Linked DNA regions of Homo sapiens: regions 1 and 3 are each linked to region 2. The links are contacts of gene promoters, found by promoter capture Hi-C in blood cells and fetal thymus (Javierre and others, 2016). All regions are on one chromosome and are shown on one strand. The core of a region is centred on a gene start or on the middle of the fragment in contact, and the rest is flanking DNA. Distances in the headings are between cores, read along the strand shown. Region 1 holds the start of LOC101928093 (a long non-coding RNA gene). Region 2 holds the start of BNIP1 (BCL2 interacting protein 1). Region 3 has its middle 51 kb from the start of DUSP1.

Evidence for each region. The method cuts DNA at HindIII sites, captures the fragments that hold promoters and counts their contacts. A CHiCAGO score of 5 or more calls a contact.
Region 1: a contact is called between a fragment that was not itself captured here and the fragment with the promoter of BNIP1 in region 2, in 1 of 17 cell types (total B cells). The highest score is 5.4, in total B cells.
Region 3: a fragment that was not itself captured here is called in contact with the fragment with the promoter of BNIP1 in region 2 in 3 of 17 cell types (fetal thymus, naive B cells and total CD8 T cells); the score reaches 7.3 in fetal thymus.

What each region holds. Positions count from the first base shown.
Region 1 is chr5:172,752,016-172,755,896 of GRCh38, reverse strand. LOC101928093 (a long non-coding RNA gene) reads right to left here and starts at 394. Exons shown (of 4, transcript NR_161233.1): 1 at 198-394. The HindIII fragment of the contact is 263 bases long and covers 1,166-1,428 here.
Region 2 is chr5:173,142,481-173,146,552 of GRCh38, reverse strand. BNIP1 (BCL2 interacting protein 1) reads right to left here and starts at 2,022. Exons shown (of 6, transcript NM_001205.3): 1 at 1,924-2,022. The coding sequence starts at 2,007. RefSeq lists enhancers at 1,290-1,359, 1,301-1,829. The HindIII fragment of the contact is 7,780 bases long and covers 1-4,072 here.
Region 3 is chr5:172,718,593-172,722,775 of GRCh38, reverse strand. No RefSeq gene overlaps it. Among named protein-coding and RNA genes, the nearest start is that of DUSP1, 51 kb to the left of the region's middle. The HindIII fragment of the contact is 163 bases long and covers 1,983-2,145 here.

The DNA.
Region 1 (3,881 bases), core at 48-2,547, 390 kb after region 2:
TTCCAGAGGACTCACCAGAAGCTGAGCAGATGCTGGCACCATGCTGCCTGTACAGCCTGCAGAGCTGTGGGCCAAATAAACCTCTTTTCTTTATAAATTACCCAGTCTTGGGTATCCCTTTATAGCAATGCAAAACAAACTAATACACCATGTCACCTGGAGGGAGTAGCTGAGGCCTGGAGAAGGAGAGGACTTACCCACAGCTCAGGTTTAACACAGTGTGTGGTCCAAGACCTAAGCCTGGCAGGGCCTTCCACTGTACCAGGCAAGACAAGGGTGAATCCCACCCTCACTCAGGGGCCTAACATCCCCTTTAAGGTTGGGGAAAGTAGGAAGTACCAAGGATGGCACTAAATGAGAAGCTCCCCCAAGGACTCCTAGAATAAAGGTTCATGTGTCCTGTGTCCTCAGCACTTGATAGACCACTTACAGACCATTGTGACAGACCATTGTGATGCTGACTATGTAGAGATTCACAGACCACTGTGACACTGACTATGTAGAGCAGAAAGGCTGGTTGTTCCCCAGGCTCTAGTCTTCCTTAGTAATAGGCTTTTGGCCAGGTATATGTCCACATTCCCCAGCCTCTCTTACAGCCAGACATAGCTGTTTGAATGTCAAACCTAATGTGTGTGCAACTTCCAGGGAGTGTCCTTAAAGAGAGGGCTGATACATTTCTTCCCTGTTTTGTCCTTCCTGTGGTCTGGAATACAGAGTGATGGCTGGAGCTGAGGCAGCCATTTTTAGCCATGAAGTGATGTCGGGAATGACGGCAGAGCAGAAAGACAGAGGGAGTCTCCTTCCCTTAGGACTGTTGAGGGGCAATTCTCCATGGCATTCTTATACCTCTTGTGACACCTTTTGCGTGGAACCATCTTTTCAGGATGTTTATATGACAAATAGCCTGGGGGAGCAGGAATAGTGTCTCACTCTGGAGCAGAGGACAGATTTATTTCCTGACCAGGATTATAAAGATAATGCCTTTCTCCAGGTTGAATGTTGACCGGGTTCGTTAGCAGCCTCTTATGCTTATAAGATTAGGAGTTTCCTAAGCTCAGTATATCTCAGCTCTGACATGAGCCCTGTGTGCACAGGATCCACCTGGGCCTCCTGCTCCAGCCCCATGGAACTTAGGAGGCAAGTAAACCAGAGCAAAGATAAAGCTTGAGCTGCCTACTGTGTTGTGAGTAATAAAGTCCTTTGTCTCTGACCTAAGAGTCCTGAGTCTTCTGCTGGCATCTGTGCAATTGTGGTAAGCTCGTTGTTAGTTTGCAAGTAGGAGAAAAGAAATCTCAGACCCTTCATATGTCTGACAAGGACTTCATGGAGCAGAGCACTATCATTAGCTCTGGTGCACTTTTTAAAGTTTTCCTTTTTCTAACTTCATTGAGATAATATTTATTTTAATAACTATATCTCACTTAAGCTTACAATTTAATATATTCTGACAGATTTATACAGTTTTGTATATTTTTAAATTTCAACAATTGTTTGCAGACTGTATTATACCTACCAATACATTCAAGATATGGAACATATCCGTGGTCAAAAATTCCTTTGTGCTCCTTCCCAATCAGTCCGTAACCTCCCCACCTTAGCCAACTAGCATTATGCTTTCTGTCACTGTAGACTAAAGTTGTGATTTCTAGAGTTTTCTATAAGTGGAATTATATAGTATTCCTTTATTGTGTCTATTTCAATTAGCATGCTTTTTGAGATTAATCCATGTTTTCGTGTGCATCATTGGCTCTTTTTAAAAAAATTTTTTCAATGGACTCCATTTCTTAGAGCAGTTTTAGGCTCATGGCAAAATTGAGCAGAAGGTACAGAGATTTCGCATATACTCCCGTCCTCACATACACATAGACTTCTCCACTGTCAACATTCCCCACCAGAGCGAGTGGTGCATTTGTTACAGTCTGTTAACGACACTGACACATCAGTATCACCCAAAGTCCATAGTTTACATTAGGATTCGCCCTTGGTATTGGACATTCTGTGGGTTTGGACAAATGTCTAGTGATAGGTATCCCCAATTGTAGTATCGTACAGAGGAGTTTCACTGCCTTCAAAATCCTCTATACTCTGCGTATTCAGCCCTCCCTCCCCATAACTCCTGGCAACCACTGATCTTTTCACTGTCTCCGTAGTTTTGCCTTTTTCAGAATGTCATATGGTATGTAGCCTTTTCAGATCAATGTGTTTCACTTAGTAATATGCATTTGAGATTCATCCATGTCTCTTCTATGGCTTTGATAGCTCATTTCTTTTTAACACAGAATAATATTTCATTCTCTGGATGTATTACAGTTTATTCACTTACCTGCTGAAGGACATCATGCTTGCTTCCAAGTTTTGGCAATTGTGAGTTTGGATGCTATAAACATCCACATGCAGGTTTTTGTGTGGAAATATTTTCAATTCCTTTAGGTAAATGCCAAGGAGCACAATTGCTAGGTTGCATGGCAAGAGTATGTTTAGTTTTGTAAGAAGCTGTCAAACTGTCTTCCAAAGTGGCTGTAGCATTTTTCATTTTCACCAGCCCTGGATGAGACTTCCTATTGCCCCACATCCTCTCCAGCATTTGGTGGCATCCGAGTTTTGGATTTTGGCCATTTAACTAGGTGTGTAGTGGTGTCTCACTGTTGCTTTAATTTGAATTTCTCTGATGACACATGATGCTGAGCATTTTTTCACAGGCTCGCTTGCCATCTGTGTATCTTGTTTGTAAGGTATCTAAGGTATCTTTTATTCATTTTTAAAGTGGGTTGTTTCCATACTGTTGAATTTTAAGAGCTCTATGTGTATTTTGGATGACAGCTCTTTATCAGATATATCTTTTGCAAATATTTTCTCCCAACCTGAGGCTTGTCTTCTCATTCTCTTAAATCTGGTGGGCTTTTTGTGTGTGTGAGCAAACTATATTTTTATCTTTCTGTGTTGTTTAAGCTACTGTAATGCTGGGCTTTTATTGGAAATGAACCTAATTCTAATACATGAAGTCATATTTCTGCTTAGAACCTTCCAGTGGCTTACCATCTTATCCAGGATAAAGCCCAACTCTTTCTGTGTCCTCCATAGGCCCAGCTAGTCTGGGTCCCTGGCAGAGTGGTTAAGAGCAAGGCCTGTGGTTGAAATTCTAGTGGTGTTGCTTCCGACGTCTGTGACCTTGGGTGTTATTTAACTTCTCAGTGTCTCAGGTTCTTCACCTGTAAAATGGATTAGTAATAGAATATAGCTCATCAGGTTGTGGAGAGAGCCAAATGAGTTACTGTAGTAAGCACAGGGTCAGGCACATGGCAAGCCCTCACTATGTATCACTACGGCATAGTGTCCCTTCCACTGACCACTGCAAACAACACGTGGGTTTTCTTTCATTTCTTCAAGAAACTGAGCTTATTCCCACTGCAGAGCATTTGCACCTTTCCCTCTGCCTGGAACTCTAACCCCTCCACCCAACAAACGCACACCACACATGCTCACATACACGCTCAAATACATGCACTCACACATGCTCACGCTCACACATGCTCACACCCACCCACACATTCCCGAACACTAACACACACACACACGCTCACAAGCAACCACACACACTCACGCACCCACACACACATAATATTCACACTCAAATATGTTTGCTCACACAATACCCATTCCCATACACACTCACGTGTAGTCACACGCATGCACACTCACACCCAACATATTCCCACCCCTCTCCACACCCTTTTGTGAGGCTGGCTTCTCCCCCTGCTCAGAGGGTCTTATCGATTGCATTACCTCCTGTGGCCTACGTTGCTCTGTCTGGGCACCCATTCCTTGGTTAATAGCACCCTCAGCCATGGCTGTCCCATGCAGCCTGCATTCCCTGAGCACGC
Region 2 (4,072 bases), core at 773-3,272:
TGCCCAACAAGAATGGACATGCAAAAGTGATACTATCACTTTAGAACCTTAGATCCTTCCAACTTGGAAGATCAGGATGTTTAAATATCTGGCATCATATGATGAGATTAACTTCTCCAGTGTGATTTTACAAACCATTAGTGATAAGTTAGAGTGTTTATATAGACATGTTTAAGGGCAGATTTAGAATCTGTTGCTGGACATTCAGAATTACTGGTGCCAGCTTTCACGGCAGGCTCTGGAGACAGACCAGGTGGATTCGAATCCTGGCTGTAGCAACTTATGAGCTGTGTAAAGTTACCTGGAAAGTTATTTAAATTCTCTGTGTCTGAGTTTCCTTATCACAACACTACTTACCTCATAGAACATCATAGATTATGTATGTATGTAAAGCACTTAGCAGAGCTGCTGGAAAACGGTAAGAACGCAATACATCCAGCTATAATCAGTCTTTCTCATCAGCAATGACAAGAACCCAAATGTTAGAAAGAGTACAGAAGAATGCCTAAGCAATTTAGATTATGTGAAAATGTAATTTCATTTGTATGAAACCTGTTTATTTTTCTATAATTGGCCCAGAAGTTTTGTAATGTATACATCAGAGAAGTGAAGTTCAAGAAGTTTTAAATATCTGCATCAAATTTCACTTTTTCTCTGGCTTATTCATTTAATCACACTTCTTTGCACCGTATTTGTTTATTCTGCATCTAATTTGGTTTATTCTGCATCTGGTTTATCTGGGGAGCCCTATTTTCCTGCACTTTTTGCCACACCTTGTTACAAACTCTGAGTCTACATCTAATGTTTAGTGACTTTGTTGAAAATGATTATTTTTAAAAACCAAGGTTTAGGCCGGGCGCGGTGGCTCACGCCTGTAATCCCAGCAATTTGGGAGGCCGAGGCGGGCGGATCACGAGGTCAGGAGATCGAGACCATCCTGGCTAACACGGTGAAACCCCGTCTCTACTAAGCAAAACACAAAAATTAGCCGGGCGTGGTGGCGGGTGCCTGTAGTCCCAGCTACTCAGGAGGCTGAGGCAGGAGAATGGCGGGAACCCGGGAGGCGGAGCTTGCCGCGAGTCGAGATCGCGCCACTGCACTCCAGCCTGGGCGACAGAGCGAGACTCCGTCTCAAAAAAACAAAAACAAACAAGCAAAAACAAGGTTTAAAACTCGGTTTCTTTTTGCTGAACTCATGGAACCGTGTCTACACTCCCAATTCTTGCCTAAGTCCACTCGTTTATTTTACCTCTACCCTTAAATGGCTTAAGGCGAAACACTTCATTTCCTATCTGTTCAAACGGGGTAACACTCTAAGGTGTTATTCCTAGGTTGACTTTCACAGTCCAGGTCCCAGTTTTGCCACTGACCCAGGTATGCCTTCTAACCTAGGCCTTGGCGCCGTACTCGATTTCCTCAAGCATAAAATCACAACTACGGTCCAGGTTACATTCGTTTCACCCGGTGCCTCCCGTGCCAGGTGGCCTTGGATGCCAGGAGAGCTGGCCAGCAGGGGGCGGGGCTAGCTGCCTCCCGGACGCTACCAGAGGATGCTGAAGCAGCGTCAGAGGGCGGGGCCAAGCAGGGTGACAGGTAGGTTGTGAGGTAGTCAGGGGCGGGGCGACGACCAGGGCTGCAGGTGGAAGGGGCAAAGCCGAGCCCCGAAGCAGTAGCTGAGTCAGGGGCGGAGAACAGTGGGGTGCTCTGGGGATGGGAGATCCGGCGGCACCCGGAAAAAGGATCAAGGCCAGCAGTCACCGGGACACAACCAAATGGGGACCGGGGGGGTAGCCGACCATGGGGCGGAGCCTGTGGTCTGGGAAACCAAGTGGGGAAAGTTCGGGAGTGACACTGCCAAGCTCACAGACCAGCAGAGCTTGGGTTAGGGCTGCTGGAGCCCGGCAGGGGTCCCGGGATCAGTACCTGAATAAGCGCCTTCACCTCCAGGTCAAATTTGACAATCTCTTGGTTACAGATCCGGACGTGGACGTCTTGGGGAGCCGCCATGTTGGGGACGCCGGCTACGGGCAGCGGCAGGACCCAAGTTCAAACGCGTTTTCGCACCACCTTCTTTCCCTCCCCACCCAGTCTCGGGGCAGCGCCCCCTAGAGACCGGCGAAAATGGCAAGCGAGGGTCACTGCGCAGAGTTGGGACTTTCCCTGACACGTGTAGGGAAATCAGCCTCTCCTCTTGGTATGGCCCTAATAACATGGAGAGGAAGGGAAGAGGGAATATCAAGAACGCTTCACAGTGGTCTCTTTCCATCTTCCTTCTGTCAGGCATTCTAATAACTATATATTTTTTACATAGAAAAAAAAAGACTGGAAGAAAAGTATCAATTGAGATGTCTCTGGAAAGTACCAGTAATAATTTTTTGTTTCTTCAAACTTTCTTATATTTTTAATATTTTCTACAGTGAGTATAAATTGTGGAGTAAAAGAGGAAATGATAAACGTCATATATTTTTTAAAGTATGGAGTTCAAGGCAGGTCGGTAGAGTACCTCCTATCACTCCAACACATGATCTAAGGGATCTTTGTAAAACACGAAATTGATCAAGTCACCTACCTGTATGCAGCCCTTCTATGGCTTCTCGTGTTTCCCTTTTGTATACAACTGGATTTATTAAATCTACCTTGCTAAGGTAGTTTTGATGGAAATGTCAGAGCAAACCCTCAACAAATGGTGGCTCTTTTATTTTTGTTAGTAAATAATCCAAGTTTCTTAGCTGGTCCTCAAGGCCATCAGCCACCCCGGCCATCAGCCACCGCACCCTGCGCCCTTCCTGGATTGCTCAAGCTCCTTCTGGATGTGTAGCCTTAGAATGTGGTGTTCCCTCTCCCTAGAAAGCGTTTCCCCCACTCGACCCCACTCCATCTGCATTTGTTCGGGTCACTTCAGCAAGCATAGATTGTGAGGACCTAAAGGCTTAGGACTTGAATGTTCATCTCTCTCTCTTTTTTTTTTTTTTTTTTTGTGGCGGAGTCTCGCTCTGTTGCCCAGGCTGGAGTGCAATGGCACAATCTTGGCTCACTGCAAACTCTACCTCCCAGGTTCAAGCAATTCTCCTGCCTCAGCCTCCTGAGTAGCTGGGATTACAGGTGCGTGCCACCATGCCCAGCTAATTTTTGTATTTTTCATAGACACGGGGTTCACCATATTGGTCAGGTTGGTCTCGAACTGACCTCGTGATCCACCCGCCTCGGCCTCCCAAAGTGCTGGGATTACAGGCGTGAGCCACTGTGCCCGACCATGTTCATCTCTCTTAATCCTCACAACCACCCTTGAAATTGTACTACACTATTATCACAGATCAGGAGTAGGGCTTAGAGTAAATTAAAACAAAAAACAATCAACCCTGTTGCAAGATTACCTATCTTGAAAGTGGCAAAGCCTAGGCCGGGCACGGTGGCTCATGCCTGTAATCCCAGCACTTTGGGAGGCCGAGGCGGGTGGATCACGAGGTCAAGAGATCGAGATCATCCTGGCTAACACGGTGAAACCCCGTCTCTACTAAAAATATAAAAATTAGCCGGGCGTGGTGGCGGACGCCTGTAGTCCCCGCTACTTGGGAGGCTGAGGCAGGAGAATGATGTGAACCCAGGAGGTGGAGCTTGCAGTGAGCCGAGATCGCCCCACTGTACTACTCCAGCCTGGGCGACAGAGCAAGACTCCATCTCAAAAAAAAAAAAAAAAAAAGAAAAAAGAAAGAAAGAAAGTGGCACAGCCTCTACTGAAAGCCATCTTTTCCCCAAAAAATCAATATGGTCCCCACCTGTTGTAAGCGGGGCTATGTGCTTGTCTGTGTCCCTACAGCCCTCTACACACCCTCTCGTAAGGTATTCATCACCCCACTGCACCTAATAGAGAGGCAGTGTATCACAGGCTTGGCATCTGCCTGGGCTCAAATCCTGTCCACCACACACTTCGCATGCCTGTGCCTCTGTCTCCTCGGAAGCTAACTGGTGATAATCAATTGCGCCTACTTCACAGGTTGGAGAATTAAATGAGAAAATACATGAAAAGCACCAAGCACAGTGTGCTAATGTGGCATATAGTAAGATCTCAATG
Region 3 (4,183 bases), core at 815-3,314, 420 kb after region 2:
ATTTTTGGTTTTCGCCTATTCTTATTAAGTGGATTTAATGTCTTTCTTAATCCCTGTCTGTGGCTCTGCCCATCTCGATGTTGAACAATGTCCTGACCTAAAAAATGCCAGGGGCTGGGGGTGTGGATGGGGGGATGCAAATGCTGGTGGTGCCGCTGGGCGCTTCCTCTGCTTTGGGCTTTCACAAAATACGGGTTGCACACTGCTGGCTCCAGGAAAGATGCTTTTATATACTCTCGGCGTTAAGGACATCAGTAAATCCCGCAGTGAGAAATTTGTTTTTTCTGGCTGTCCTTCCATTTTCTGATTGCTTCAAGGAGAAAGTCTCAGCTTGTGCTACTCTGGTTTTAACGCCTCTTTACCACTTGCTGATCTAACAGATAGCGTGACAGATAGCGGTCCCAGCACAGAGCCTGCAGGAGGCGGCCACCTTGAGACAGAAGAGGTGACCTTGTTTTATTTATCTGTCTTGTTTCTTGGAGCCAGGCTGCCTTGTTTCAAATCATAATGCTGCTGCATTCCAGCTGTGACCTTGTGCAAGTTACTTAAGATCCCCGTGCCTCAGTTTTCCCCTCTGTATAACTGAGATACAGTGGTGCCCATCTCATAAGGTTTTCATGGGGATGAATGAGTTAATGTTTGTAATGTGCTTAGCAGAGTGCCTGGCACATGGTAAGCACTTGTTATATTCATTTTTGTGTTGATGGGAAATGATTCCACTTTTCCATTCGGGGTGGTGATGCAACGTTTCCTTTTAAGATACATTTAGTTCAGTGAGCCAATTAAAAACAAATATTAAGTTTGAAAACAAGTGCTCTGCAGATTTAGCAAAAATCATCAAAGCGCGCTGGAACTGACTGAGTTTGGAAAATAACGCTCTGGCGTTCATTGAACCGGTTCCAATAGCTTTAGCTTTGCGCTATAGCCATTCATAAAATGCTTTATAAAGATTTGATTTATTTGAAGTTTTGTAACAACTCTGGGAGGTAGGAATGATGATTGTCCCTGTTCTTCGGATGAGGGGATTGAGGCACAGAGAGGTCAGTTAACTGGCCCCAAGTTGCACAGCCGGGAGGTGACCTTGGGCCACCTGGCTCCAGAGTTTGTGCCCTTGGCCACGTGGCCAGGCAGGCCCCTTTTGCAGAAGAGAACACTTGAGGTGTCAAGGGACACCAGTGAGTCTGGGACGGATGAGGGGCTGAGTATGAGGATGTGCCCAGTGCTGCTGAGATGGACTCCAAGTCCGGGTGAGATACAGGCCCTTCTTGTCCCCTGAATGGCTCACCTCGCCCCGTTGGGACAAACGTGCTCTCCTTTCTCACAAACAACAAGAAATATTTCTCATGTGACATTTCTCATAGGCTAGACCACTGCTCCTTTGTGGAGAAATGTGGGCTAGCCTGAGAACCTCAGGAACCAAGAAGGTGGGACCCTGGGACCCACCCCTGGGCCCCTCCCACTGGGCTAGCCTCTTAAACTCTGTCTCCCTGAGTCTTCACAACCACTCTGTGATGGAAACACAACTCTTCCATTTTACAGGTGGGGAAACCGAGGCCTGGAGAGGTGGAGTGACTTGCCCACGGTGACAGAAGAGGCAGGGTCAAAGTTTGAACTCAGGAGCTGGGGACACTTGTTGGCTGCCTACCCAGCAGCCATTCCTTCTAACAATCCCCAGATCTCCTTCTAAGTACCTACCACCACCCCCCGACCACAGCCAGCATGCTTGGAGGGGAGCCCCCTCAACTCCAAGGAGGGCTCTGATGGGCTGGAACCAGATAATGCCTCCCATTCCCTTGGCCACAGGCATTGGTTCAGGGGTAGTCGTGTGACCCAAGACTGTCCAATGAGAACAACTGCCCAATGGACTCCTGGATGGATATTGGAATATGTCCCCTCCTATAGCGGAATGAGAAGCATGTGCCATGCGCTCAGGGTAACACTGACTTGGGAACCTATGAAGAGGACAGAGGTCCTCGAAAGCTTCACCCAGCTCCTTGACAGCCTGCACCACTCTGAAGATTCAGCTCTGCTCACACCAGCCAACAAGCTCCCTTGTTATCTAAGTCAGGTGGAGGCTTGGAGTTGGGTTTCCTTTCCTGCAGCTAGAAACGTTCTGAAACTGCAGTACTTCTGGATTCCAAAGCTTGAGTCCTTTCCCTAGCATAAGGTGCTTCTCTGCATATCCATATTCCAAAAGTCGAACACTTTGGCACCATTTTCCTCTATGTTTTGAGTTCCAGACACCAGGTTTACAAAGGATTGCTGCATGACAACTTTGCTTGAGGTGAGGACCCTTCCCAGCATGTTTCCTTGCTGCCCCAAGTTTAAAAATAATTACATGCATGAAAGAACACTTCACAGACTGTAAGGTGCTCTCTACCTTCCCTCCCTCCCTTCCACAAATAATAACTAGCTGCTGTGCCAGGCATTACAGATACGGAGGTGAATAAGTCCCAAAGCTCATTCTCTTGGAATTCACAGTCCAGCTGGGGAGGCAGACTAGTAACCAGCTAATTATCGCCTATGGTAATTGTCTTGATGGTAGAGTTCAGCATAGCATGTAATTGGGGCAGAAAGGAGTGGGACTACCTTGCCCCGCCTAAACGTAAGTGGGTGGATCAGAGACAGTTGAGGCCAGAGCTACACCTTGAAGACACCGTAGGAACTACTGGAGTGAAGAAGGTTGGTAAGGTGTCCCTAACAGAGGGCTCAGCCTGTGTAAATGTGTGTGGGCCTTAGAAAGCACATATGGTCTGTTTGTTCAGGAAAACGTAAGCATGTCAGGATGGTGGAGGGCAGGGTGCAGAGAGTGGAAGGTGGAGGCACAAGGTTGGAGAAGTCTGCGGGGCAGGGGATGAAGGAACCAGAAGGCCAAGCCAGTGTCTGGGACAGGATCCCGCACCACTGGGGAGCCACCTAAGGATTCCAAAAAACAGCGTGACACAGTCAGATTGCATTTGGGGAAGGGCACTCAGGGCACTCGAGACATAGCTTGGAGCGGCAGGTCTGAGTCTACACCTGAGGACCCTTGAGTCCGGCCTGACAGTCCCGTACCCCAAGCCTCTGGCCCCTCCAGAACCATTTGACCCCACCAACTCCCACCCAAGCCAACTGTGAGCCATTTTCTGACTGGGTGGTCTTGGACAAGTCACTTCCCCTCTGGAAGCATCTGTTTCTCCATCTGCACCATGAGTAGAGTCCCACTGGCTTCAAGGACCATGGTTGGAAGCTCAGTCATGGCACCACAAGTGAGAGTCCTTCATGCCTATACAGAGCCGTGTTCATGCATGAGGTGGGTGTTTGCGCCCAGTTTCTCAAACTCCCATGGCTCCTGGCTGAGTCAGAGCCTTGACGTGCTTTGCTGCCCTGGTCCCAGCTTCAGGGACTACACCCTCTCCCTGTTCTTTACAAGAGATGCTCCAGGTCACGTCTTGGGGTTTACTCATCATTGCTCTGTGCACATTAGATGTTGCCAGAATTTGCTGATGGCCCATCCCCAGCACTGGCACCTAACCCCTTTTCCCCACCATAGCCCCACACTGGAGGACTTATTTACCTGGGTCACTGCTGCCATCTTTTATTCTGACCTCCTTCCTGTGGGTCAAAAAGCAAACACAGGCTTAGGTCAAGTAGTCTTTCAAACATCCATCCATCCATCCATCCATCCATCCATCCATCCATCCATCCACCCTGTCCAACCATCCATCCATGCATCCATCCTGTCCATCCACCCACCCATGCATCCATGCATCTATTCATCTATCCATCCATCCATCCTATCCAATCCATCCATCCTATCCATCCATCCATCCAATCCATCCATCCATCCATCCTGTCCATCCATCCATCCCTCGTGTCCATCCATCCATTCATCCATCCATGCATCCATCCATCTATTCATCCATTCATCCATCCTATCCATCCATCCAATCCATCCATACATCCATCCATCCATCCATACATACATACATCCATGCATCCATCCATCTGTTCATCCATCCATCCAATCCATCCATCCATCCATCCATCCATCTACCCATCCATCCATCCATCCATACATCCATGCATCCATCCATCTATTCATACATCCATCCTGTCCATCCATCCATCCATCCCATCCATCCATCCATCCATCCATCCACTAATCTTCCTTCCACCCATTCGTCATTCATCCATTTGTCCA